Linked DNA regions of Homo sapiens: all the other regions are linked to region 7. Evidence: promoter capture Hi-C in human tissues and cell types (Jung and others, 2019). All regions are on one chromosome and are shown on one strand. The core of a region is centred on a gene start or on the middle of the fragment in contact, and the rest is flanking DNA. Distances in the headings are between cores, read along the strand shown. Region 1 has its middle 86 kb from the start of NTNG2. Region 2 overlaps NTNG2 (netrin G2). Region 3 holds the start of LOC105376302 (a long non-coding RNA gene). Region 4 has its middle 11 kb from the start of NTNG2. Region 5 overlaps LOC105376299 (a long non-coding RNA gene). Region 6 has its middle 23 kb from the start of FAM78A. Region 7 holds the start of RAPGEF1 (Rap guanine nucleotide exchange factor 1).

Region 1 (3,925 bases), core at 864-3,363, 510 kb before region 7:
GCTTCGGGAGTCTTCCTGGTCCTTCTTGTTGGCACAAAAGCTTGGGCCCCTCTGCAGATTACAAAGAATCTCAATCCTGCCTGGTGTGTAAGGCAGGTGGCAGCGAGGGGCCCACCGGGAGCTCCGGGAGGGCAGAGCCTGTGTCTGTCTGGTTCACTGGGCCAGGCTGGTCACGTTGAGGTGCTCAGGAATATGATGAGTGAGAAAGGAGGTGTGAGTGAGCCTGAACCCTCCTAGCAGGTTTTGGGGAGGGGGCACAGAGGAAACAAAGCAATCACAGCAGCTGACACTTAGGGATGGCTGACTTGGTGCCAGGCCCTGTTCTAAACACTGCGCGGCTCAACTCATTCACTCCTCACAACGGCCCCACCCTGCAGGCGCTATTTTTAACATCCCCATTTCACAGATGAGATGGCCAAGGCACAGAGAGACTGAGGAACTTGCCCAAGGATGTATAGTTGGCAGGTGTGGGGTACAGCTTCAAGCCCAAATCAGGTTCCAGAGCTCACCGTCCTTCTGCCTGAGGAGCTGCCCTCCCCTTCAGGGGCAGAAATGCGGGCACTGGGTCAGCAGTGAAAGGCACGAGCTCCCAGGACTCTGGGCCTCACTCCAGCTACTCCTGGCTGGGTCCCAAGGGCCACCTGCTCCATCATCCAGGGAGAGAGCCTCTGGCTGGAAGCCATCTGGAGCACTTTGGCCGCAGGTGCCTCCACCTGGCCGCCCCTGTGGGGCAGCAAGGTCTCCTGTGCCACCAGGAGCACAGGCACTGGGCCAGACCCTGAGGTGTCAGAAGGGTACATGGCAACCCCCTGCCCTGGGAGCCAGAGTCCCACTGCCAGCCGGCCCAGGCTGGGAGGGGAAGAGGGTGAGAGGCTGGGCAAAAAATGAAAGGTGGGGCTTTGCATTTCTTTTTGTTTTTTTTTGAGACGGAGTCTCCCTCTGTCACCCAGAGGAGTGCAGTGGCATGATCTAGGCTCACTGCGACCTCCGCCTCCCGGGTTCAAGCGATTCTCCTGCCTCAGCCTCCCGAGTAGCTGGGATTACAGGCACCTGCCACCACGCCCAGCTAATTTTTGTATTTTTAGTAGAGACGGGGTTTTGCCATGTTGGCCAGGCTAGTCTGGAAGTCCTGACCTCAAGTGATGCGCCCGCCTTGGACTCCCAAAGTGTTAGGATTACAGGCATGAGCCACTGTGCCTGGCCTTGCATTTCTTTTTTCTTTTATTATTATTATTATTTTTGAGATGGAGTCTCACTCTTGTCACCTAGGCTGGAGTGCAATGGCATGATCTCAGCTCACTGCAACCTCTGCCTCCTGAGTTCAAGCGATTCTCCTGCCTCAGCCCCCTGAGTAGCTGGGATTACAGGCACCTGCAGCCACGCCCAGCTATTTTTTATATTTTTAGTAGAGAAGGGGGTTTCACCTTGTTGGCCAGGTTGGTCTCGAACTCCTGACCTCAGGAGATCCATCCACCTCGGCCTCCCAAAGTGCTGGGATTGTGGGCGTGAGCCACCACGCCCGGCCTCTCTTTTATTTTAAAAGGCCTCCTTTGATAGTCTAGATACAGTGCTAAGTTTTATATAGCAGGCTAAAGAAGGATGTGTATACGATGAGGCCATTGTTGTTAAAAATAAATAAGATAAATAAATAAAGGGAAAAAATAAAATAAAAAAAGGTGCAGGGCTGTGCAGCCTGCCCAAGAGAGTGCATTTGAATCCTGGCCTCTGGCTCTTCCTGGCTGTGCGACCCCGGGCAACTTACACACCCGCTCCGTGGTGGACATTCTTTCTTTGTTTTCTTCCTCTGGTTGAGGAAACAGAGCCCACCCCCCCTTGCTGGAGTGGCAAATGCTGGACTGGAGGGTGCGGGTGCGTGGTGGGGGCTGTGGTGGGGAGGCCAGCAGGGGGTAGCCCTGGGGGTGAGGGATGTGCCCAGGGCAGCGCCCAAGGCAGCATCTGAAGCTCTGGCTCTCCAGCCACCCTGGGCGGGATACTGGGTGCCCTTCCTGACTCCACTTTACCTCCTCTTTTTTGTTTTTTTGTTTGTTTTTGAGATGGAGTTTTGCTCTTGTTGCCCAGGCTGGAGTGCAGTGGCACAATCTCAGCTCACTGCAACCTCTGCCTCCCAGGTTCAAGCGATTCTCCTGCCTCAGCTTCCTGAGTAGCTGGGATTACAGGCATGCACCACCATGCCCAGCTAATTTTGTATTTTTAGCAGAAACGGGGTTTCTCTATGTTGGTCAGGCTGGTCTCGAACTCCTGACCTCAGGTGATCCACCCACCTCAGCCTCCCAAAGTGCTGGGATTAGAGGCATGAGCCACTGAGCCCAGCTGTTTGTTTTTTTGAGACGGAGTCTTGCTCTTTGCCCGGGCTGGAGTACAGCGGCGTGATCTCGGCTCACTGCAACCTCCGTCTCCTGGGTTCAAGGGATTCTCCTGCCTCAGCCTCCCAAGTTGGGGGGGGGACTATAGGCATCTGCCACCACACCCAGCTAGTTTTTATTTTTATTATTATTATTTTTTTGAGACGGAGTCTTGCTTTGTTGCCCAGATTGGAGTGCAGTGGCGCGATCTCGGCTCACTGTAACCTCCACCTCCCAGGTTCAACGGATTCTCCTGCCTCAGCCTCCCAGGTATCTGGGATTACAGGTGCCCACCACCACGCCTGGCTAATTTTTATATTTTCAGTAGAGACGGGGTTTCGCCATGTTGGCCAGGCTGGTCTCGAACTCCTGACCTCAGGTGATCTGCCTGCCTTGGCCTCCCAAAGTGCTGGGATTACAGGTGTGAGCCACCGCGTGGCCCACTTTCCCTACTCTTACCTTGTTCTCCTGACATGTGTCTGAGGGGTCTGTGATCCTTTAATCTCCTCTGCCTCTTAAATCACCTGGTGTTTTGTTTCGGTGCTTGTGGCTAAGGTCCCTGGCCAGGACGCTTTCAGAGCCCTGGTATGTGGAGCTGTAAGATGGCCATATTATATTAATTGATCCCACGCTCAGCATCACTGAAGGGACCCTTGAAATAAGGCATGTCCAGCCTCAGTGCTAGGGCTTAGCAATTGCAGGGGTGGGGGGCGATGTCTGAGTGTGGGTTTTATTTTATGGAAAAACACTAGAAATATCTATCAGAAAACATTAACAGTTATGCTGGACGTGGTGGCTCACACCTGTAATCCTAGCACTTTGGAAGGCTGAGGAGTGAGGATGGCTTGAGCCCAGGGATTCGAGACTAGCCTGGAAAACATAGTAAAACTCCGCCTCTACCAAAAATATGAAAAATTAGCTGGACGTGGTGGTGCACAGCTGCAGTTCCCCCTACTCCAGAGGCTGAGGTGGGATGATGGTTTGAGCCCAGGAGGTGGAGGTTGCGGTGAACCGAGATCGTGCCACTGCACTCCAGCCAGGGCAACAGAGCGAGACTCCGTCTCAAAAAAAAAAAAAAAAAGTATTAACAGTTATTAGCTCTGGATGAAGAATTGTGGGTGAGTTTAATAGAAAAATTATTATGATTTTGCTTTTCTGTATTTTCGAACTTTCCTACAAGTTGTGACAGGTGGTTTAAACGGAAAAATAAATAAGTAATGTTTTTCTTCCTGGGGCCTTTCCCTTAACTCTTCTGGCTGGGATGTGCCGGGATGGACCAGGCCCCTGGGGAGACAGGGAGGCGGGCTCAGGTCTGCCGGGAGATGCTGCTGGCTGCTCCCCAAGCTCCCATAAATGCCTCGTAACTGTAAGGCATGAGCTGGGCAGGAAATGCCGACGCAGCAATTCTGCTTATTTAGGGGAGTGGGTGGGGGCAGGGGACAGGCCATGCTGCCGCAGAGGGCCAGGGGAGGCGTTTCCCCTGACAGCAGAGCGGTTCAGAGGAAGCTGGGCTCCCCAGGGTTCCTTGCTCAGCCTGACCTGGCTGTGGGCGCCAAAGGAGG
Region 2 (3,586 bases), core at 284-2,783, 430 kb before region 7:
CGGTCAGGAGCCAGACACAGGAAGGCTGAACCCCAGCTCCTACACTCAGTGGGCTCTGAGAAGTCTCAGAATATTCACCGGTCAGATGCACAGTAACAGACCTACAGGGGCTTGGATGAGGTGGGCAGGGGGAGTGGACTGTCTCCTCTCTGTCACCCACACACTTTCCCCTCGAATCACCTGGCCCCCTTCCCTGCGTCTCTGCACGAACCATTCCTTCTGCCCACATCCTCACTCTCCTGACCCTTCCCATCCTGCAAGACCCACTTCTGAGCCCACAGCCTGTGCCTCTGGCTGTGGGTTTGGCCTATGGGGTCCTCTTCTGTCCCTCAAGCTAAATTCTAGAATTAAAAAGGATAAAAATAAAAATACACTTTTTTTTTTTGAGACAGAGTCTTGCTCTGTCGCCCAGGCTGGAGTGCAGTGGGACGATCTCAGTTCACTACAAACCCCACCTCCCAGGTTCAAGTGATTCTCTTGCCTCAGACTCCCAAGTAGCTGGGATTACAGGCGCGCGCCACCACACCCGGCTAATTTTTGTATTTTTAGTAGAGACGGGGTTTCCCCATGTTGGCCAGGCTGTTCTTGAACTCCTGACCTCAGGTGATCCGCCCACCTCAGCCTCTCACAGAGCTGGGATTACAGGCTTGAGCCACCGTGCACCCGGCCCTTTTTTTGAGCATTCCTTTTGTGCTGGCTCCCAGCTGAGGTCATCACACGCCTGGTCTCGTCTTATTTGTACACACGTCCTTCGAGGTTGTGTCCAGCGCCATGCCCAGTTTCAGATGAGAAAACCAAGGCTCAGGGTCACAAGGGACTTATCCCAAGTCCCACATCCCAGAAGTGCGGGATGCCCCCGGGCCCCATCTCCTCCCTCCAGAAGCCCAAGTTCTCATCCGCAGCATGGTGCGGCCTGCCTGTCTGTCCGTCCGTCCATCTGTCCGTCTAATCTGCAGCATGGTTCGACCTGTCTGTCTGTCCGTCCGTCCGTCCGTCTCATCCGCAGCATGGTGCGGCCTGCCTGTCTGTCCGTCTGTCCATCCATCCATCTCATCCACAGCATGGTGCGGCCTGCCTGTCTGTCCGTCCGTCCATCTGTCCGTCTAATCTGCAGCATGGTTCGACCTGCCTGTCCGTCCGTCCGTCTCATCCGCAGCATGGTGCGGCCTGCCTATCTGTCCGTCTGTCCATCTCATCCGCAGCATGGTGCGGCCTGCCTATCTGTCCGTCTGTCCGTCTGTCCATCTCATCCGCAGCATGGTGTGGCCTGCCTGCCTGTCCGTCCATCCGTCCGTCTCATCCGTAGCATGGTTCGACCTGCCTGCCTGTCTGTTCGTCTGTCCATCCATCTCATCCGCAGCATGGTGCTCCTGCCTGTCTGTCCATCTGTCCGTCCGTCCGTCCATCTCATCCGCAGCATGGTGCGGCCTGCCTGTCTGTCCGTCTGTCCATCCATCCATCTCATCCGCAGCATGGTGTGGCCTGCCTGTCTGTCCGTCCGTCCGTCTCATCCGCAGTATGGTTCGACCTGCCTGCCTCTCCGTTCGTCCGTCCATCCATCTCATCCGCAGCATGGTGCTCCTGCCTGTCTGTCCGTCTGTCCATCCATCCGTCTCATCCGCAGCATGGTGCGGCCTGCCTGTCTGTCCGTTCGTCTGTCCATCCATCCACTGCCTGCCCCATCGCAGGTGGGATTGGAGGCAGCTTGTCATTATACCCACAGTAAATGAGAAAAAGGGAAATGGATTAAACATCAGAGTTAGGAAGCATAGAGGAAGACAGCCTGGGAAGGTGGGGATGCGCAGACCGGAAAGGTCTGGGGGTCTCTAAGTCTCTGACATTCTTTGGAAAGATGTCCCATCTGGGCCCTTTCACACAGCTGCCTGCCTTCCACGGGGTGTCTGGACCCAACCTCATTCCCTCAAGGGAAGTCAGAAGCAAGGGTCTCACTCCCTGGGCCCCGGGCCTCGGTCTTCTCATTGTCTACTGCCCAGGAGGGAGACTTCACTGTGCAACAAGATGTCATTTCACAGAACTATTCTTGTCCTAGGCTGGGCCCTGCCTCGGGCATTTCAAGAGACTGAGTGGCTTTAACGGCTGGTGCAGCTCAGGTGCCGAAGTCACTTGCAACTGACTTAAGGACAGAGTTGTGCAAACCTCCCGGCTTCATCCAATCGCAAATCCCACAGAACAGGGACTGCAGTGGAGAGAAGCAGGGGCTTCCAGGGTCTCCTCTGTCCTGACCCAAACCCCAGTTTTTCCTTCAAGACTCAGCCCTGGCCAAGTGCAGTGGCTCACTCCTGTAATCCCAGCACTTTGGGAGGCTGAGGTGGGTGGATCACGAGGTCAGGAGATCGAGACCATCCTGGCTAACACAGTGAAACCCCGTCTCTACTAAAAATACAAAAAATTAGCCTGGCGTGGTGGCAGGTGCCTGTAGTCCCAGCTACTGGGGAGGCTGAGGCAGGAGAATGGCGTGAACCCAGGAGGCAGAGCTTGCAGCGAGCCGAGATTGCGCCGCTGCACTCCAGCCTGGGCGACAGAGCGAGACTTTGACTCCAAAAAAAAAAAAAAAAAAAAAAAATACAGCCCTGATCCTGCCTCCTCTGAGAAGCGTTCCTGGATCACACCATGCTTCCTCCCATGCATCCATTCATTCAGGAAATGCTTACTGGGCACTGATCAAGTCCAGAGGGAGGTGCTGGGGATGCAAAGATAGCGAGACAGCCCTGCCTTTGAGGAGCTCACAGTCCAGGGGAAAAGCAGACATCTAAAGTTACAGAATTGGTCCCAACAGCCAGCACGCAGTGAGCAACTACTATGTGCCAAGCACCGTGCTCATGACAGTCTCCTATGCACGTTCTATTAATAGCTCCCATTGAGAAACTAAGGTTCAGAGAGGTTAGGTCTCACATCAGAGATCACACAGCACGGGATTCTAAACTCTCCATTCCTAGGGCCAGAACTCTTCACTGATAGGCCAGTCAGTAAGCAGGATGATGACCAAATGAGGGCCTCCTCACCCCACTGGGCAAAGGAGTCAGAGAAGGCCTCCTGGAGGAGGAGGTAGGGTCCAACCTGAACCTTGAAAAAGGAGCCAGGGTTATCCAGGTAGAAGCGGAAGCCTTGAAAAGAAAGGAAGGAGGGGGCAGGCATTCGGGTGGAGGAGACAGCACGGGCCAAGGCTGGAGCGCCCGGAGAGTTCATGGGGAGGGGCACGCCCTCCTCCTTCCCCAGCTCCTATCATATCAGGCCCCGGTGTCACCATTTGTGGTTAGCTGGGTATTGTCTTCAATGTCTGTAGTGTTTTTCTCTTGTTTTTCACTTAATTTATCTCTAGTCATCTCACTTTCCCATCACAACTGTGCCTGGCATGAGGTCATACCTGGAAACATCTGCCGACTGGAGGGTTGTGACGGCGAGAGGAGGGAGGCTGGGGCCAGAAACACAGAGGGGGAAGGAGGCCAGAGCCATCGGGCCGGTCAGCTCTGCATTGTTGGATGGAAACATTTCATGATCCTCAAGGTCTGGCAGGAGGCAGAGTGTCTGTGACCTTGATTCTGCATGTGGTGTTCAATGTCACAGT
Region 3 (4,003 bases), core at 1,136-3,635, 360 kb before region 7:
GAAAATGAGGATTTAGTTCTTAGGCACAGGCACACACACGTTTATCTTATCTCACCACCCCAAGATCACAGGTTCTAGTTAAACCAATATTCAGTGTTTACTGTCCTATGACTTGGGAAAATATTATATGCCACTGACTACCCAATGCACTGTGATTGCGTTTTTTGGTACAATTTCATTTTTCTCAGAGTTAGTAATTTTGATGGGTTTTTATATTTTCAATGTAGTTGCTAATTTATCTCTGTCACAACTCTAAAGCTTTTGTTAATATAATTAAAACTTCAGAACCTATTAGTTCTGTGTCTTGCTTTAAGCCCTCTATCCTGGGCTGCAATCAGCCTGGTTGCTGTGCTGGGCCCTGTGCACACCTGTGGTCTGGGTCCTCTGTAATAACATTTACCTCTCTCTTCTGTTGCATCCCCTGTTTCCTGGATTCTCTGTTTTCCACTTTCTTGGTTTACTCTCTCATTTTGATGGAGCACGTCCTCTAGTAGCTTCTTGAGAAAAGATGCATGGAAGGAAAATTCAGTGAGACCAGGCATGTCTGAAACATACTTAGTCCACACTTACACTTGATTGATAAAATTATCAGCTGGAGGCTGAGTGCAGTGGCTCACACCTGTAATCCCAGCACTTTGAGAGGCTGAGGTGGGAGGATAACTTGAGTCCAGGAGTTCAAGACCAGCCTGGGCAACATAGTGAGACCCTATCTCTAAAAGAAAAAAAATTATCAGCTGGACATGGTGGTGCATACTTTTAGTCCCAGCTACTTGAGAGGCTATGGTGGAAGGATAACTTGAGGCCAGAAGTTCAAGCCTGACTAGTGCACTACAGTCGTGCCTGTGAAGAGTCACTGCATTCCAGCCTTGGTAACATAGCAAGGCCCTCTTTCTAAAAATAAAATAAGATTATCAATAAGTTCTAGGTTGGAAATATTTTTCCGCAAGATTATGAAGGCCTGTGCCTTCTTCCAATTTCCAGTGATGATGTTAGAAAGTCCAATGCCTGTGGGCAGATCACCTGAGGTCAGGAGTTCAAGACCAGCCTGGCCAACAAGGCAAAACCCCGTCTCTATTAAAAATATAAAAATTAGCCGGGCACGGTGGCGCATGCCTGTAGTCCTAGCTACTTGGGAAGCTGAGACAGGAGAATTGCTTGAACTTGGGAGGCGGAGGTTGCAGTGAGCCGAGATTGTACCACTGTACCCCAGCCTGGGCGACAGAGCGAGACTCCGTCTCAAAAAAAAAAAAAAAAAAGTCCAGTGCCTGATCCTTGATCTTTTGTGTATGACATTCTGTCTTTGGAAGCTTTTGACATGATTTTACACTGGCACTCTGAAGGCTCTTTAAATCTGGAAATGTTTGCCCTAAAGTTTTGGGAAATTGTCATGTATTATTTTTCTTTGATAACTTCTGCCCCTCTATTTTCTCTCTCTCTATCTCTTTTTTTTTTTTTGACCTGGAATTCCTCATTTTGGATATTGAACTTCCTGGACTGTTGTAGAGAGAATAATGCCCCTCTACAGATTTCCACATCCTAATCCCCAGAACCTGTGAATATGTTACCTGACAGGTGAAAGGAACTTGGTAGAGGTGACTACATTAAGGATCTTAAGATGAGGAGATTAAGTTGGGTTTAATCAAACAGCAAGGATTTTTTTTTTTTGAGACAAAGTCTTGCTCTGTCAACCAAGCAGGAGTGCAGTAGTGCAATCATAGCTCACTGCAGCCTCAGACTCCAGAGTAGTTGGGGTCACCAGTGCCACCACACCAGGCTAATTTTTAATTTTTTACAGAGGCGGGGTCTTGTCATGTTGCCCAGGCTTCTCTTGAACTCCTGGCATCATGTGATCCTACTACTTCAGCCTCCAAAGTGCTGGGATTACAGGTGTTGGCCACTGTTCCTGGCCGCAAGGATTCTTATAAGAGGAAATCAGGAGGGTCAAAGTCAGAAAAAGGAGATATGACCATGAAAGCAGATGTTGGAGTGATGTGCTTTGAAGGTGGAGGAAGGGGCCACAAGCCAAGGAATTCTCTAGAAGCTGGTAAAGGCGAGGAAACAGATTCTTGCTTTGAGTCTCCAAAAAAGAACCCAGCCCTGCCAACACCTTGCTCTTTGCCAAATTAGACTCATTTCAGACTTATGACCTCCAGAACTGCAAGATACTATTAATGTTATTATTAATATTATTATTATTTTTTGAGACAGAGTCTTGCTCTGTCACCCAGGCTGGAGTGCAGTGGCATGACCTCAGCTCACTGCAACCTCCTGGGTTCAAGTGATTCTCCTGCCTCAGCCTCCTGAGTGGCTGGGATTACAGGCATGAGCCACCATGCCTGGCTAATTTATTATTACTATTATTATACTTTAAGTTCTAGGGTACATGTGCACAATGTGCAGGTTTGTTACATATGTATACATGTGCCATGTTGGTTTGCTGCACCCATTAACTCGTCATTTACATTAGGTATTTCTCCTAATGCTATCACTCCCCCTGCCCCCCACCCCATGACAGGCCCCAGTGTGTGATGTTCCCAGCCCTGCGTCCAAGTGTTCTTATTGTTCACTTCCCACCTATGAGTGAGAACATGTGGTGTTTGGTTTTCTGTCCTTGTGATAGTTTGCTCAGAATGATGGTTTCCAGCTTCATCCATGTCCCTGCAAAGGACATGAACTCACCCTTTTTTATGGCTGCATAGTATTCCATGGTGTATATGTGCCACATTTTCTTAATCCAGTCTAGCATTGATGGACATTTGGGTTCATTCCAAGTCTTTGCTATTGTGAACAGTGCCGCAATAAACATATGTGTGCCTGTGTTTTTATAGTAGCATGATTTATAATCCTTTGGGTATATACCCAGTAATGAGATCACTGGGTCAAATGGTATTTCTAGTTCTAGATCCTTGAGGAATCGCCACACTGTCTTCCACAATGGTTGAACTAGTTTACACTCCCGCCAACAGTGTAAAATCATTCCTATTTCTCCTCATCCTCTCCAGCATCTGTTGTTTCCTGACTTAATGATCACCATTCTAACTGGTGTGAGATGCCCAGCTAATTTTTGTGTTTTTGGTAGAGACGGGGTTTTGCCATGCTGGCCAGGCTGGTCTTGAACTCCTGACCTCAGGTAATCTGCCCGCCATGGCCTCCGAAAGTGCCAGTATTACAGGCATGAGCCATTGCACCCGATCTATATATGTTATTTTAAGTCACTCAGTTTGCAGCAATTTGTGACAGCAACCAAAGGAAATGCATACAGGAACTAACAGGCACCTACTGTGTGGCAGGCACCGGACCACAGTCTACATTCCTTCTTTGCTGAAGCTTTCTGGAGCCTTCTGATCTGGGTGGGCCTTACTTTGCAAATTCTCCCTCATTGTGCTCATCACAATTCTGATTAAATCATCAGGGTTTTTTATTCATTCATGTCTCTCTACCCACTAGACCACAGGCTCTATGAGGCCTGGGATTATGGGTTTGTTTGTTTTATTCACCACTTTGTCGTGTGGATGTTAATAAATATGTGGTGAGTGAATGACTAAATGAATCAAAGGGATTATCCCTGGTAGTCCTCACAGCAACCCTGGGAAGTAGGAACCATTACTCATTTCACAGGTGACGAACTGAGACACAAATGAGGCCCCATCACTTCTCTAAGGATGCATAGATTAGAAGGGGTAGAGCCAGGATTTGCACCCAGCGTTGTTTGGTGGGGCCTTCAGCCCATGAGCTTAGCCACTAAGCTAAAGATGTCCCTCCAGACTGTCTGCCTCTGCCTCCCTGACTGTCCCCAGCCCCCAGCCTTTGCTGACTTCTGCCCAGAGACCTGACATTCTGGAGGAAGGAGCATCTTAATTAGGCCACCCTGCAGCTGTTTGGGGAGCTGCCTGGTCCCCCACGGAGGCGGAGGTTTCTGTGACAAGTCCCGCGCATAGCTGGACTGGGGGCTAGAAGCGACAGGGTTTGTCAAGTTGATTTGGGATCCTTGGGAACGGGCAGT
Region 4 (3,672 bases), core at 286-2,785, 410 kb before region 7:
ACATGCCTGTGACCCCACGGCCAGTGCCTTGACCCTTCCCCGCCCACATTTCTCAGAATTTCTTGCCCCAATTCTGTCCCCTGAAAGCTTTGGGACTGTAGCTGAGTCCCTGACTCCATTTCTGGGGTTCAAGATCTTCATCCATCAAGGGAGGAGTTTGAGCTGGTGGCACCTGAGGGTGCTTCCAGTGCTAACATTTTCAGATAAGCTGCTGGCCTCCCAGGTCCTCTCCTGACACAGGAGTCTCAGCTCACCCAGTACAAATGTTTCCCTGAACGATCAACACAATGACAACTCCCTAAGGAGAGGAGAGACATGCGTCAAGAACAGGATTGTTAGAAGCCTGACATTAACACACCATGCACATGGCACAGGTGACGCCCTGGGCAGCCAGCGGCGCGGCCACTGGGGAACACAGAGGCGGCGGGCCGGGTAGACAGGCCTGAGCTTCTGGTCTGTGCTTTGATTTTTAATTTTTGTCAATGTGAGCTCCAGAAATGCCTTATGGTACACTGGGAAAAACTCTCCTTTTGCAGCTAAATGGCCAAACATGTACCGAGCAACTGCTCTGTGTCTGCAGGGCCTTGGGAGCCCAAGGGTGAGGCTGGAACCTCTTAACCAGGTATGACCAGGCAGTTTCCAGAAAGAACCTCTTGGCATGAGGCATCCATATGTGGGGCTGCTGCTGTCCGGCTGGTCTGCACGAGGGCCACCACTCCCATTTGTTGAAACATTGAAATACTTCATGCATTTACTGTCGGCAAAGAGCCACTATTCTGGGCCCCTGGAGGGTCTCCCCATCCCACTTCCCAGGCCACTCAGCACCCTTCCTTGGGAACCTCTAGATAGCTAGACCTCCCCCAAACCCAGCAGCTACCTGGGCTAGTGCCTGGCACAGCAGCAGGACCTCTAGGTCTCACTCCTGCGCTCACCTGGCACCTGCCTGTCCCCTTGGGCGGCACCCATGGCCTGCTGGTTGTTCAGTATACTGATAATCACTGCTGACCTCAAACACACATGTGCACATGCCCGCAGCCCAGAGTTTGGGGTGATGTGGTTCTCTGCTGCCCTTGGGATTCCCTAGGGTGTTTTCAGGAAGACCCCGCTCCCAAGCATCCCCCTCAGGGCCCAGGTCACTGGGGTCGGGCCACCTTGGGGTCCTCCCACAGCAGAGCAGGAAGGCAACTTCTGGTCCTATAGAGCCTATGCTTTACTGTCCCCAGTAACCTTCCCCCAGCTAAGCCCACCCACCACTCTGCATTTTATAACCAGAGAGGAGAGTAGCTTCTGCTTCTGGAAGAGGGGGCTCTTCTCTGGCTGCCCTCGTCTGTGGTCTCTCAGACTCAGATGGAGAAGTGCAGCTGGCAGAGAGGGTGAAGAGGGGGAAAATTCCAAGTATCAGTGTTGACCAGGGGGCTGTGTTGAGCTGGATCCCAGGTTATCAGGACAGAGTGCTGTGATTGACTAGTCATGGCTGCCTGGCGATGGATTCGTCATGTCTGTCTGGATGGGGGAGAGGCACATTGGACTCCATGTTCTCCCTGTTTTAGAGGATGAGGATGAGTCTCTACCCACCCTATAGACAGCCCAGGGCCACACCAGACACACACGGTACTTGAGAAATGTGTTCAATTGAGGGCAATGTTAAACATGAAGCAAGCAACCTGTGTGTTTATTATTATTATTAATATTATTATTATTACTACTACTATTTGAGACAGGATCTCACTCTGTTGCCCAGGCCAGAGTGCAGTGGTGAGGACATGCCTCTACCTCCCAGGTTCAGGCAGTTCTCCCACTTCAGCCTTCCATGTAGCTGGGGCTACAAATGTGTGCCACCATGCCTGGCTAATTTTTTATTTTTTTATTTTTTGTAGAGACAGGGGTCTCACTAGGTTGCCCAGGCTGGTCTCGAACTCCTGGGCTCAAGTGATCCTCCTATCTCTGCCTCCCAAAGTGCTGGAATTACAGGTATGAGCCACCATGCCTGGCCAACCTGTGTTCATTGAGCACATATTATGTGCAACTGGATGATAAAGTAGGGAGAGGAACTGGGAGGGATGTTTCTGGGAAATTTGAAGCTTTGTTTATGTATCCGTCCATCCATTCATTCTCTCCACAGTTATTTATTGAGTGCCTTCAGTGCACCAAGCTCTGTGTTAGGGTCTGGAGATACAGAGCAGCATCTGCTCCAAGGAGCTTCCAGGGAGCTCCCTGTGTGGGGAGCCAGGCAAGGTGAGCACAGTAGAGTGTGAGCTGCCACCGGCGGCAGGGAGGGCGCACAGCCGTGCTGTTCTCCTCCCTGGCAGAGGTGCCCTCCCAGGACCGGCCGGGGTTATTAATATCCTGCTGAGTCAGGGGGCTCTTGAGTTTCAGCATCACAAGACGCCAAGACTGGGCGCCGCGGATATTCCTGACTCCAGACTGCCCTCTCCTTCTACCCTCCTTCCCACCTGCCCTTCCTTCCCTCACCTCTACCTGGCACAGGCTGTTGAGAAGGTGGCAGGTGCTGATGGAAGCAGGTCTGGCTTTGGGAGAAGGGGGAATGGGGGGAATGAGATCTTGGGAAAGAAGTAGTTCCAATCCCCACTCTACAACTCTCTCACCGTATAACCCGATGCGAACAATCTCACCTCTCCAAGTCCCCTTATCTACAAAAAGGAAATAGAGACAGCAATGATGCAGCATGAAACAGGCCGGTCATGCCAAGGGCTGTGCCTGAGTAGGTGTTAAAAAGTGATGTCTATTCATCTAATAAGTACCCACCAGGGCCGTTCCATGTGCCTTATCCAGAAGAATGACAGAACAAGACTGATATAGTTCTACCCTCCTGAAACCCAGATGGGTCAGGAGGCAGACAGCCAGAGGGTCAGAGGGAGCCGATGCTGGGGGTGCCCAGGCCTCCGCAGCTCCCACCTGATCCGATGTTTCCCCTGATACAGAGCCCTGCCCACACCATGCTGTGACTTCCTGGTTACTGGGGCCCCCTCCTCACACCTCCACCAGACTGCAAGCTGCACAGGGGAAGGCTTTGCCTGGCTGGCTCAGTGAAGACCTCTTGTGCCTTGCCCACAGTAGACACTCAATACATGTGTGCTAGCTGAATGACCCGACAAGCAATGAGTAAGAAGAGGGGTATGTGCAGTTTATATTAAATGACTCCTGTGTGCTCAGGTAAAGCTAAGTAATTAGTGGATTAATAGGATCAGCATCGATGCTAATTGGCATATTTAAAATCAAATTTGGCCAGACAAAGCGGCTTGCACCTGTAATCCCAGAACTTTGGGAGGCCAAGGTGGGAGGATGGCTTGAGGCCAGGAGTTTGCAACCAGCCTTGGGCAATGTAGCAAAACCTCATCTCTACAAAAAATAAAAATAAAAATAAATAGCTGGGCATGGTGGCCGGCGCCTGTGGTTCCAGCTACTCAAGAGGCTGAGGTGGGAGGATCACTTGAGCCCAGGGGTTCGAGGCTACCTAGTGAGCCATAATCGCACCATTGCACTCCAGCCTGGGTGACAGAGCGAGACTCTGTCTTAAAATAATAATAATAATAATAATAAAAGTGCATTTCCTTCTAGTTCTTGCTATTGCACACTCCCCTCTCTCTCTCTCTCCTCTCTCTCTCTCTCTGTCTCTCTCCTGAATAGGATTGTCTTACCTGTCAGCTTTTC
Region 5 (3,652 bases), core at 789-3,288, 400 kb after region 7:
AAGTCCTTCAACAAATTCAACAGCCTTTCATGCTAAAAACTCTCAATAAACTAGGTATTGATGGGATGTATCTAAAAATAATAAGAGCTATTTATGACAAATCCACAGCCAATATCATACTGAATGGGCAAAAACTGGAAGCATTCCCTTTGAAAACTGGCACAAGACAGGGATGCCCTCTCTCACCACTCCTATTCAACATAGTGTTGGAAGTTCTGGCCAGGACAATCAGGCAGGAGAAAGAAATAAAGGGTATTCAGTTAGGAAAAGAGGAAGTCAAATTTTCCCTCTTTGCAGATGACTTGATTGTATATTTAGAAAACCCCATCATCTCAGCCCAAAATCTCCTTAAGCTGATAAGCAACTTCAGCAAAGTCTCAGGATACAAAATCAATGTGCAAAAATCACAAGCATTCCGGTACACTAATAACAGACAAACAAGAGCCAAATCATGAGTGAACTCCCATTCACAATTGCTTCAAAGAGAATAAAATACCTAGGAATCCAATTTATAAGGGATATGAAGGACCTCTTCAAGGAGAACTACAAACCACTGCTCAACGAAATAAAAGAGGACACAAACAAATGGAAGAACATTCCATGCTCATGGATAGGAAGAATCAATATGGTGAAAACGGCCATACTGCCCAAGGTAATTTATAGATTTAATGCCATCCCTGTCAAGCTACCAATGACTTTCTTCACAGAATTGGAAACAACTACTTTAAAGTTCATATGGAACCAGAAAAGAGCCCGCATCGCCAAGTCAATCCTAAGCAAAAAGAACAAAGCTGAAGGTATCATGCTACCTGACTTTGAACCATACTACAAGGCTACAGTAACCAAAACAGCATGATACTGGTACCAAAACAGAGATATAGACCAATGGAACAGAACAGAGCCCTCAGAAATAATACCACACATCTACAACCATCTGATCTTTGACAAACCTGACAAAAACAAGAAATGGGGAAAGGATTCCCTATTTAATAAATGGTGCTGGGAAAACTGTCTAGCCATATGTAGAAAGCTGAAACTGGATCCCTTCCTTATGCCTTATACAAAAATTAATTCAAGAAGGATTAAAGACTTAAATGTTAGACCTAAAACCATAAAAACCCTAGAAGAAAACCTAGGCAATACCATTCAGGACATAGGCATGGGCAAGGACTTCATGACTAAAACACCAAAAGCAATGGCAACAAAAGCCAAAATAGACAAATGGGATCTAATTAAACTAAACAGCTTCTGCACAGCAAAAGAAATTACTATCAGAGTGAACCTACAGAATGGGAGAAAATTTTTGCAATCTACCCATCAGACAAAGGGCTAATATCCAGAATCTACAAAGAAACAAATTTACAAGAAAAAAAATCAAACAACCGCATCAAAAAGTGGGCAAAGGATATGAACAACCACTTCTCAAAAGAAGACATTTATGCAGCCAACAGACACATGAAAAGATGCTCATCATCACTGGCCATCAGAGAAATGCAAATCAAAACCACAGTGAGATACCATCTCACACCAGTTAGAATGGTGATCATTAAAAAGTCAGGAAACAACAGGTGCTGGAGAGGATGTGGAGAAATAGGAACACTTTTACACTGTTGGTGGGAGTGTAAACTAGTTCAACCATTGTGGAAGACAGTGTGGTGATTCCTCTAGGATCTAGAACTAGAAATACCATTTGACCCAGCGATCCCATTACTGGGTATACACCCAAAGGATTATAAATCATGCTAATATAAAGACACATACACACGTATGTTTATTGCGGCACTATTCACAATAGCCAAGACTTGGAACCAACCCAAATGTCCATCAGTGATAGACTGGATTAAGAAAATGTGGCATGTATACATCATGGAATACTATGCAGCCATAAAAAGGATGAGTTCATGTCCTTTGCAGGGACATGGATGAAGCTGGAAACCATCATTCTGAGCAAACTATCGCAAGGACAGAAAACCAAACACTGCATGTTCTCACTCACAGGTGGGAAGTGAACAATGAGAACACTTGGACGCAGGATGGGAAACATCACACACTGGGGCCTGTTGTGGGGTGGGGGGAGGGGGGAGAGATAGCATTAGGAGAAATACCTAATGTAAATGATGAGTTAATGGGTGCAGCAAACCAACATGCCACATGCATACACATGTAACAAACCTGCATGTTGTGCACGTGTACCCTAGAACTTAAAGTATAATTTAAAAAATAAAATAAAAATAAATAAATAAATAAAGTGTTAAAAAAAGAAAGAAATATCAACATGAACTTATGAATTTGGGGGTAGCCTTCCTGTCTTTGGCACACTGGAAGAGCTGTGGCGTAGTTTCTCAGGGCTACGGTAACAAAATGTCACAAACTGGTGGCTTAGAACACAGAAATGTTCTGCCCCAAATTTCTGGAGGCTTGAGGTCCAAAGTGAGGGGGTGGAAAGGGCCACGCTGTGTCTGAAGGTGCTGGGAATCCTCCCTCCCAGGCCTCTCTGCAGCCTCGGCCACGCTGCGTCTGAAGGTGCTGGGAATCCTTCTGCCCAGGCCTCTCTCCAGCCTCCAGCAGCCTCCAGTGTTCCTTGGAGTGTGGCGGAGTCACTCCTGTCCTCCCTCTTCACAGCCTGTCTTCTCCCTGTGTCTTTTTTTTTTTTTTTGAGACAGAGCTCTGTCACCCAGGCTGGAGTGCAGTTGTGCAATCACAGCTCACTGTAACCTCCGCCTCCCAGGTTCAAGCAATTCTCCTGCCTCAGCCTCCCAAGTAGCTGGGATTACAGGCATTCACCACCATGCCTGGCTAATTTTTGTATTTAGTAGAGATGGAGTTTCACCATGTTGTCCAGGCTGGGCTCGAACTCCTGGGCTCAGGTGATCCACCCATCTCAGCCTCCCAAAGTGCTGGGATTACAGGCGTGAGCCACTGCGCCCGGCCTTCTCTCTGCGTGTTAATGTTGCTTTCCCTCTTTCCTTCTGCATGTCTTCTCTGTGTGGCCATTTCTCCTTTCTATTTTTTATTTATTTATTTATTTTGAGACAGAGTCTTGCTCTGTTGCCCAAGCTAGAGTGCAGGGGCATGATCTTGGCTCACTGCAACCTCTGCCTCCCAGGTTCAAGTGATTCTTCTGCCTCAGCTTCCCAAGTAGCTGGGATTATAGGCATGCACCACCATGCCTGGCGAATTTTTATATTTTTAGTAGAGACGAGATTTCACCATGTTGGCCAGGCTGGTCTCGAACTCCTGACCTCAAGTGATCCACTTGCCTTGGCCTCCCAAAGTGCTGGGATTACAGGCATGAGCCAATACGCCTGCCCCCCTCCTTTTGATTTTAATTTCATATTTTTGAGATGGAGTCTTACTCTGTGGCCCAGGCTGGAGTGCAGTGGTGTGATCCTAGCTCACTGCAGCCTCAAACTTCTGGGCTGAAGTGATCCTCCTGCCTCAGCCTTCGGAGTGTCTGGGACCATGGCATGTGGTGCCACCACACCCGGCTAGTTTTATGTTGTTATTGAGACAGAGTCTTCCTATGTTGCTCAGGCTGATCTCAAACTCCTGGGCTCCTCCCACTTCAGCCTCCTAAAGTGTTGGGATTACAGGCGTGAGCCACTGCACCGGGCCACATTTCCCCTTTTTATAAGGACACCGGTCATATTGG
Region 6 (3,718 bases), core at 895-3,394, 490 kb after region 7:
GAGACTGTACCACTACACTCCAGAGCCTGGGTGACAGAGTGAGGCTCCATCTAAAAAAAAAAAAAAAAAAGTGTGATGGCCTGTGGCGCTTGCAGGCCCTCGGAGGTTTCTAACAGCCCAGGTGATCTTCTGTCGCCTCTGGCTTGGTGGTTCTCTTGGTCATCCTCTATCCTGCTTGGGCGCCCCCACAGAAATGGCTTCCCACCTGGTTGGGGTCTGGGCATAGGATGAAAGCAAATATTTTACTGTGTGACAGTCCAAAAATTGCCCATCAGGATCACAGGGCACAACCAGCCACTCCGGTGCTGTCCAGGCCCCTTCCTGCCACTGCTGACCCTTCAAGTATGCTCTTCCCCTTCAATCAGTGAGGACGCTGCCCCACAGAAGGGACCAAGGGGCTTGCCAAAGGTCACTTTTCTGGGAAGATGCAGAGCTAGGCTGGTTTCAAACACCCGGCCTTTGACCCCGTGCTTTGTCTCAGCTCCTTCTATGACACCCCAGCCTTCTGGTACCCCAGTTCTACCAGACTGCCCTCAGCTGTCCTGTTGCTAAGGTTCCTCGGCATGACGCTGAGTCCGAGTCCTTAGCAGCCCTGTTGACCCTGGACGATGGAAACTTTTTTTTTTTGAGACGGAGTTTCACTCTTGTCCCCTAGGCTGGAGTGGAATGGTGCAATCTCAGCTCACTGCAACTTCTGCCTCCCGGGTTCAAGCAATTCTGCCTCAGCCTCCTGACTAGCTGGGATTACAGGCGCTCCACGCCACGCCCGGCTAATTTTTATATTTTTAGTAGAGATGGGGTTTCACCACGTTGGCCAGGCTGGTCTCGAACTCCTGACCTCAGTGATCTGCCCGCCTCGGCCTCCCAAAGTGCTGGGATTACAGGCTTGAGCCACTGCGCCCGGCCGATGGAAACTACTAAATGCAAGCGAACACGTCGGAGTGAATGAACTCCATCTCTGTGCCTGTGTGCAGGGAGGTGAACCCGAAATCAACATGGGAACTGGCGAAGGCCAGCCCAGCTCCCTTCAGGCCCAGACGGCACGACTTGGAATGCAGAGGCAGGATTAGTTCCTGTATCAGCCTGAGCCCTGGTTCTTATTTCATGTTCCCTTTTCAATCAGACAGAAGAAGGGTGGGTGTTTACGGCGGGCCAGACACAGCTGGGAGCCCTGCACTATTCCTGGCTGCCACTTGCCTTGCTGAGTGAGGCCAGGCTTGTCGCTCAACCTCACATGCCTGAGTTTCCTAATCGTCAGGCCAGAGACACGCACACTTACCCTGTCCTCCCCGGTCCGGGGCCCAGCAAAGGCATAGCAGTTGTGCTCCGTGTTAAACATGCAAATGGAGCCCCCAGAATAATCACACTGAGCACCAGGGCTTAGCTCAGAGACCAGGGACTCTTCTCTCTAAATACGGCTCAATTCTTCTGCAACATCTAGACCACAGGGGCCTGGCTTAGTGATGTGGGATTCTCAGCATCCATGACAAATGCAGACTGAATGCTGGTCAGACAGTCACACAAACGTATTAAAATGCTTTACCTCAGCTTTATTGGGATACAGTTCACATACCACACAACTCACCTATTTAAAGTACGGTTCTGGCTGGGTGTGGTGGCTCCTGCCTGTAATCCCAGCACTTTGGGAGGCCAAGGCGGGCAGATCACCTGAAGTCAGGAGTTCAAGACCAGCCTGGTCAACATGGCGAACTCCTGTCTCTACTGAAAAAAATACAAAAATTAGCAGGGCATGGTGGCACACGCCTGTAATCCCAGTTACTCAGGAGGCTGAGGCAGGTGAATCACTTGAACCTGAGAGGTAGAGGTTACAGTGAGATTGCACCACTGCACTCCAGCCTGGGTGACAAAGACTCCATTTAAAAAAAAAAAAAAAAGTGTACGGTTCTGGCCGGTGCAGTGGCTCCTGCCTGTAATCCCAGCACTCTGGGAGACCGAAGTGGGAGGATCTTGGGCTCAGGAGTTTGAGACCAGCCTGGGCAACATAGTGAGACCCCATCTCTACAAAAAAACTTAAAAATTAGCCAGGCATAGGCCAGACTCAGTGGCTCATGCCTGTAATCCCAGCACTCTGGGAGGCTGAGGCAGGTGGATCACAAGGTCAGGAGTTCAAGACCAGCTTGGCCAAGAGGGAGAAACCCTGTCTCTACTAAAAATACAAAAATTAGCTGAGTGTGATGGCGGGCGCCTGTAACCCCAGCTACTCGGGAGGCTGAGTCAGAGAATTGCTTGAACCCGGGAGGCAGAGGTTGCAGTGAGCCGAGATTGTGCCACTGCACTCCAGCCTGGGTGACAGAGTGAGACTCCATCTCAAAAAGCTAACAACAACAACAAAAATTAGCTGGGCGCGGTGGCACATTCTCGTCATCCCAGCTACTCAGGAGAATGAGGTGGGAGGTCGAGGCTGCAGCGAGCCCTGATCGTGCCACCGCACTCCAGCTGGGCGACAGTGAGTCCCTGTCTCACAAAATAAAAGCAAATAGAAAGTGTACGGTTCTATGGTTTTAGTATATTCACAGATACGTACAATCACCTTGGCCCAGTTGGGCTCTAGAATAAAGTAACCATAGACCGGATGCCTCGTCAACCACAGAAACCAATCCTTCACAGTTCTGGAGGCTGGAAGTCCAAGATGAAGGCGCCCACAGTTTCTGCGTGGTGAGGGCCACCTCCTGGTTCACAGAAGCGCCTCCTCGCTGTGCGGTCATGTGACGGAGGCCGGAAGGCAGGTCCCACAGCCTCTGGGGAAGGAGAGCCCAGAGTAGCTGAGGAACTGGGGTGCCCACACCAGCCTGCTGGGGGCTTCAAATGTTCTTTTAGGAGTGACAAGGGAATCGACCTGCCCAGCTCTGCAGCCCTGGGGGCCACAGAGGACCGGGGCACAGCCGGCGCCTCTGCTCAGGGCTCCGGCCTCCATCTCTGGGAGCGAGCACCCGTGGATGCCTCACTCCACCCAGGGTCACTGTCGCGCAGCAGCAGCTTTCCAGAAGGCAGCCGGCCATTGACGAGTGACCAGGCGGAGACGGTGAAGGCCAGAAGTTCCTCCAGAGGCCGCGTGCCAGCCCCTCGCCTGTGAGGGGGGCCTGGGTCTCCGGGCTCCCCAGGACGGTGCTTCCTCTTGCAGCTGGGCCTGGAGGCCGGAGAGGGTCATGTGAGCCCTCCTGGGCGGGCGGTGCCTCTACGGCTGTGACCTTGAGCAAGTCCCCCTCCTCTCAGGTCTCGGTTTCCTAGGACATGGAGTGGGGACGGAGGTGGTTCCTCACCTCACGAGATTGCGGAGGCACGTGAAGCCGATGGTCCTGAGCTTCTGGACAAGTGCCCAGCCCAGAGTAAGCGCTTAGCAAATCCGAGTGATTCGGCGGCACCACTGAGCCTCGGTTTCCTCATCTGCAAGACAGGGTTACGCTTTCCTCACAGGGAGGAGGGTTCCGGGGGGTCATCAGGCAAGGCCCTCAGCACAGAACCGCCAATAGCTAACACCTATTATTGACCTTGTTGTAACAGGATGATAAAATGGTTTTCTTGACTGGGCGCCACGGCTCATGCCTGTAATCCCACCACTTTGGGAGGCCAAGGCAGGAGGATTACTTGAGCCCAGGAGTGGAGACCAGCCTGGGCAACATAGTAAGACCCTGATCTCTACAAAAAATAGAAAAAATTAGCCCAGCGTGATGGGGCATGCCTGTAATCCCAGCTCCTC
Region 7 (3,644 bases), core at 8-2,507:
GATTACAGGCGTGAGCCACCGTGCCCAGCCACGACTTTTAATGAACTCATTTCCACACTAGAAAAGTTCCACAGCTGAGCCCCAGGGTGCCCTTCTGGATGTCAAATAAGCAGGGCAGGCAGGGTGTGCTGTGTCCCTGAGGGAGTTGGGCCCAGGCCAGCATGGAGGCTCTAGGCCTCAGGGGACATTTAGGCCTGAGTAGGGCCAACCCCAGCCCGGGACAGGTGGCTCTCGCTGGCAGGGTGACTGAGTCCCACATGCAGGGCTGGGGTGGAGAATGAATCCTCCGCCTTGGCATAGACCTTGGGCCAGCAGAGGGCTTTCATGCCAGAGTGGACTCATTCCCCGGCTGGAGCCTCTGGGCTGGCAGGAGGTGCTATGAGGCCACTCCCAGGCCCTGGTGTGGGGTCTCCAATTAAGAAGGGGGTGCGGGCAGGGTGCAGTGGTTCACACCTGTAATCCCAGCACTTTGGGAGGCCAAGGTGGGTGGATCATGAGGTCAGAAGATCGAGACCAGCCTGGCCAACATGGCGAAACCCCGTTTCTACTAAAAATACAAAAATTAGCTGGGCATGGTGGCATGTGCCTGTAATCCCAGCTACTCAGGAGGCTGAGGCAGGAGAATTGCTTGAACCCGGCAGGCAGAGGTTGCAGTGAGTCGAGATCGCGCCACTGCTCTCCAGCCTGGCGACAAAGTGAGACTCGGTCTCAAAAACAAAAAACAAAACAAAAAAGGGGGTGCTGCATCTCTGGTTTGGGGGAGGTCAGGACAGGCTCCCAGCCAGCAGAGCTTGTTGAGTCCTGGTGAGAGTGAGTTCTAGGCCCTGGTGTGGAGCCTCTGGCCCACAGGGGATGCTGGGTCCGGGATGATGCTAGGGTGGGGTGGGCGTCAGTTCCACGTCCTGGGGTGGAAAATCTGACCCAGGAGGGTTCTCTGTGTCTCTGGTGAGGGGGCAGGCCAGGCTCTTGGGCAACCGAGGACCCTGGGTTGGAGCTGTCAGTCCCAGGTCTGGAGCTGGTGACTCTGGTCCCACAGCAGAGGAATGCGGAGTCCCAGGCGGGGTCGGCCCCACACCCCAGGCCCCAGGCCCCGGCGTGGGGACTCCGGCTCGGCAGGGGGCGCTGCGTCTCGCGCGTCGCGCGGGAGGCTCGGGCGGCTCCGGGCCCACAGGGGGCGCTGTGGCGGCGCGGCGGGCGCCCGGCAGGTGGCGCTGTGGCCGTGGCCGCGGCCGAGGCCCGGCGGGCGGGCGGGCGGCGTCGCTGCGCTGCGGCCGGCTCGCGGGCCGGGGGAGCGGCGGCGGGCGCGCGGGAGGCGGAGCGGCGGCGGCGGGCGCGGCGGGAGCGGCTGGGCCCGGGCGGGCTGGAGCGCGGTCGCCGAGCGCAGGGCCGCGGCCGCGCGGAGCCCGCCATGCCGGCGCGGGTCTGAGGCGTGGCGAGCCAGGGCCGAGGCGAGCGGCGGGCGCGCCGCCCCTGTCGCCCCGCGGCGGCCCGGCCCGGGCCCGATGAGCGGCGGCCTCGGCCTCCGGCGCAGCCCGGAAATGTCCGGCAAGATCGAGAAAGCAGGTGAGGCGCGGGCGTGGGGCGGCTCCCTCCGGCCGGGCCCGGCCCTGGGGCTCCGCCGCTCCCCGGGCCGAGCGCGGGTCGCCCGGGATGTGCGGCCCTCCGTGCGCCGGGGCGGGGTGAAGCCACCGAGGCCTCGCCGGGGCGCCTGGCAGCTTCTCCTCCAGGCCCATTGCCTGCCGGGCGCGGGGGGAAGCGGCCGCTGCGGGGGCGCCAGGGGCCGGGCCGGGCGGGGCCCCTGCAACCCGGGGCCGGGCGCGCTAGCCGCTCCGCGGTCCCCGGGAACTTCCGAAAATGGCTCGAGCCCCAAGCAGGGGAAGAACAGCCCGGGCCGCGTGCTGCTGCGGCTGCAGCGATCGGTGCCCGGCCTGGGCTCGGCGCTAGGAGGGTGAACCCAGCTGAGCTGTAAAATGTGTCATTTCTAACGAGCTTCGAGTTTAACGAGAAGCGTCCACTTCGGTTGCTTCAAAGGAAGCAGGCTGGATGAGTGGGGGTATTTTGAGGAGGTAGTCAAGTTTCCCCTCCCCACCCCGATCAAGCTCAGCTCTGCAAGGAGGGCAGGTGGGGGACCGGTGGGTTGGAGTAGATGGTAAATCTTGATGCAGACCTCGTCTCTTTGTGTGTTCCTAGAAATCTGGGGGAGTTACCTTCCGAGTCCCTGGGTTTGCCTGTCCTGGAAATAGAGTCTCCAAAGATTCAATGACTGTCGAGCCTGTGGGGCCCCAGGCTTTATTAGCCTGCAGCACCTTGCAGGGCAAATGCGAATTCTTGGGTCTAAGGTGAAGTGGGCGGGTGCTCCTGGGCTCCTGTACTGGGAGCATGCCCTGTGGTCATAACCCCGGTAGCAGGTTAGCTTGGCGGCTGAATGAGGGAAAGCAGATTTTTAGGGAGCTGCAAAGGAGGTCTGTGGCTTTGATTGTGGAAGTTGCTTATGTTTCCTGGGTTGAATCTGGGATACTTCTGTGGGGTGCACCCCTGCAGCGGACCCACAAGGCAATATGACTTTTGCAGGCTGTGGTTGAAGCACAGAAGGACATTTTTGTAGGCTTTATTGAGGGTTTACTATATATCTAACTCTTAGCACCTAAAATGCATTGCTTCTTAAATTTTTGAAGCTAGTCTGTGGGAAAGAATATGGTCCCAGTTTTACAGGCTCAGAGAGGTTCAGTGAGTTCCGGCTGTCCAGACAGCAAGAGGGCGGCAGGCCCCTAGTATATTCATTCCTGGCCCTCTGACCAGAAGCCAGGGTGCTTTTCTCAGGGGCAGGGCGCTTGGGTTCAGGTGCCATTTCTTGAGTATTTTTCTCACTGAATTTGAGCCCCCACAGCCTTGCCGAGTGACCATGAGTCGCCATCCTGTACACCTGCTGCTCCAGAAATAACTTGGGTTCATCTGTGCAGCATTTCTCAGGAACTTCTTGTATAGTGTCTTGTCAGAACGGTACTGTTGGGAAACTTGGATAATTTATTTTAAAAAGAACATTCACTGAGTTCTTTTATAAGAACTTTATAATATATAAGATTATATTATATCTTTTTATATCTAATATAAGATTATATTATGTTTTATATCTTTATAATATAAGAATATTCTATGTTCATTGTCAAAACTTGGAAATCACAGAAAAGTAAAATGAACCGGATTGGAAATCATCTGTCAGCCAGGTACAGTGGCTCACGCCTGTAATCCCTGCATTTTGGAAGGCCAAGGCAGGAGGATCACTTGAGCCCAGGAGTTTGAAACAAGCCTGGGCAAAATGGCGAGACCTCATTGCTACTTTAAAAAAAATTTTTTTTTTTTTTTTTGAGACGGAGTCTTGCTCTGTTGCCCAGGCTGGAGTGCAGTGGTGCGATCTCGGCTCACTGCAAGCTCCGCCTCCTCCTGGGTTCACGCCATTCTCCTGCCTCAGCCTCCCGAGTAGCTGGGACTGCAGGCGCCTGCCACCACGCCTGGCAAATTTTTTTGTATTTTTAGTAGAGACAGGGTTTCACCGTGTTAGCCAATATGGTCTCGATCTCCTGACCTCGTGATCCGCCCACCTCGGCCTCCCAAAGTGTTGGGATTACATGCGTGAGCCACCGCGC

Evidence for each region. The method cuts DNA at HindIII sites, captures the fragments that hold promoters and counts their contacts. A contact is called where the count stands out against the background at its distance.
Region 1: a contact is called between a fragment that was not itself captured here and the fragment with the promoter of RAPGEF1 in region 7, in 5 of the 25 tissues and cell types used here (dorsolateral prefrontal cortex, heart right ventricle, lymphoblastoid cells and 2 more).
Region 2: a fragment that was not itself captured here is called in contact with the fragment with the promoter of RAPGEF1 in region 7 in 3 of the 25 tissues and cell types used here (lymphoblastoid cells, spleen and stomach).
Region 3: a contact is called between a fragment that was not itself captured here and the fragment with the promoter of RAPGEF1 in region 7, in 2 of the 25 tissues and cell types used here (IMR-90 fibroblasts and dorsolateral prefrontal cortex).
Region 4: a contact is called between a fragment that was not itself captured here and the fragment with the promoter of RAPGEF1 in region 7, in 3 of the 25 tissues and cell types used here (adrenal gland, dorsolateral prefrontal cortex and lymphoblastoid cells).
Region 5: a fragment that was not itself captured here is called in contact with the fragment with the promoter of RAPGEF1 in region 7 in 1 of the 25 tissues and cell types used here (spleen).
Region 6: a contact is called between a fragment that was not itself captured here and the fragment with the promoter of RAPGEF1 in region 7, in 3 of the 25 tissues and cell types used here (adrenal gland, dorsolateral prefrontal cortex and spleen).

What each region holds. Positions count from the first base shown.
Region 1 is chr9:132,246,071-132,249,995 of GRCh38, reverse strand. No RefSeq gene overlaps it. Among named protein-coding and RNA genes, the nearest start is that of NTNG2, 86 kb to the right of the region's middle. The HindIII fragment of the contact is 5,962 bases long and covers 1-3,925 here.
Region 2 is chr9:132,171,721-132,175,306 of GRCh38, reverse strand. The region is part of intron 2 of NTNG2 (netrin G2); the gene reads right to left. Among named protein-coding and RNA genes, the nearest start is that of NTNG2, 11 kb to the right of the region's middle. The HindIII fragment of the contact is 9,420 bases long and covers 1-3,586 here.
Region 3 is chr9:132,099,705-132,103,707 of GRCh38, reverse strand. LOC105376302 (a long non-coding RNA gene) reads right to left here and starts at 488. Exons shown (of 3, transcript XR_930403.1): 1 at 401-488. The HindIII fragment of the contact is 3,203 bases long and covers 784-3,986 here.
Region 4 is chr9:132,149,122-132,152,793 of GRCh38, reverse strand. No RefSeq gene overlaps it. Among named protein-coding and RNA genes, the nearest start is that of NTNG2, 11 kb to the left of the region's middle. The HindIII fragment of the contact is 3,649 bases long and covers 1-3,359 here.
Region 5 is chr9:131,337,636-131,341,287 of GRCh38, reverse strand. All of the region lies in intron 1 of LOC105376299 (a long non-coding RNA gene), which reads right to left. Among named protein-coding and RNA genes, the nearest start is that of PLPP7, 50 kb to the right of the region's middle. The HindIII fragment of the contact is 6,560 bases long and covers 1-3,652 here.
Region 6 is chr9:131,251,736-131,255,453 of GRCh38, reverse strand. No RefSeq gene overlaps it. Among named protein-coding and RNA genes, the nearest start is that of FAM78A, 23 kb to the left of the region's middle. RefSeq lists enhancers at 1,071-1,572, 2,768-2,817 and a silencer at 2,524-2,840. The HindIII fragment of the contact is 9,598 bases long and covers 1-3,718 here.
Region 7 is chr9:131,737,689-131,741,332 of GRCh38, reverse strand. RAPGEF1 (Rap guanine nucleotide exchange factor 1) reads left to right here and starts at 1,257. Exons shown (of 27, transcript NM_001377935.1): 1 at 1,257-1,563. The coding sequence starts at 1,503. RefSeq lists silencers at 1,034-1,293, 1,444-1,493, 1,544-1,873. The HindIII fragment of the contact is 28,094 bases long and covers 1-3,644 here.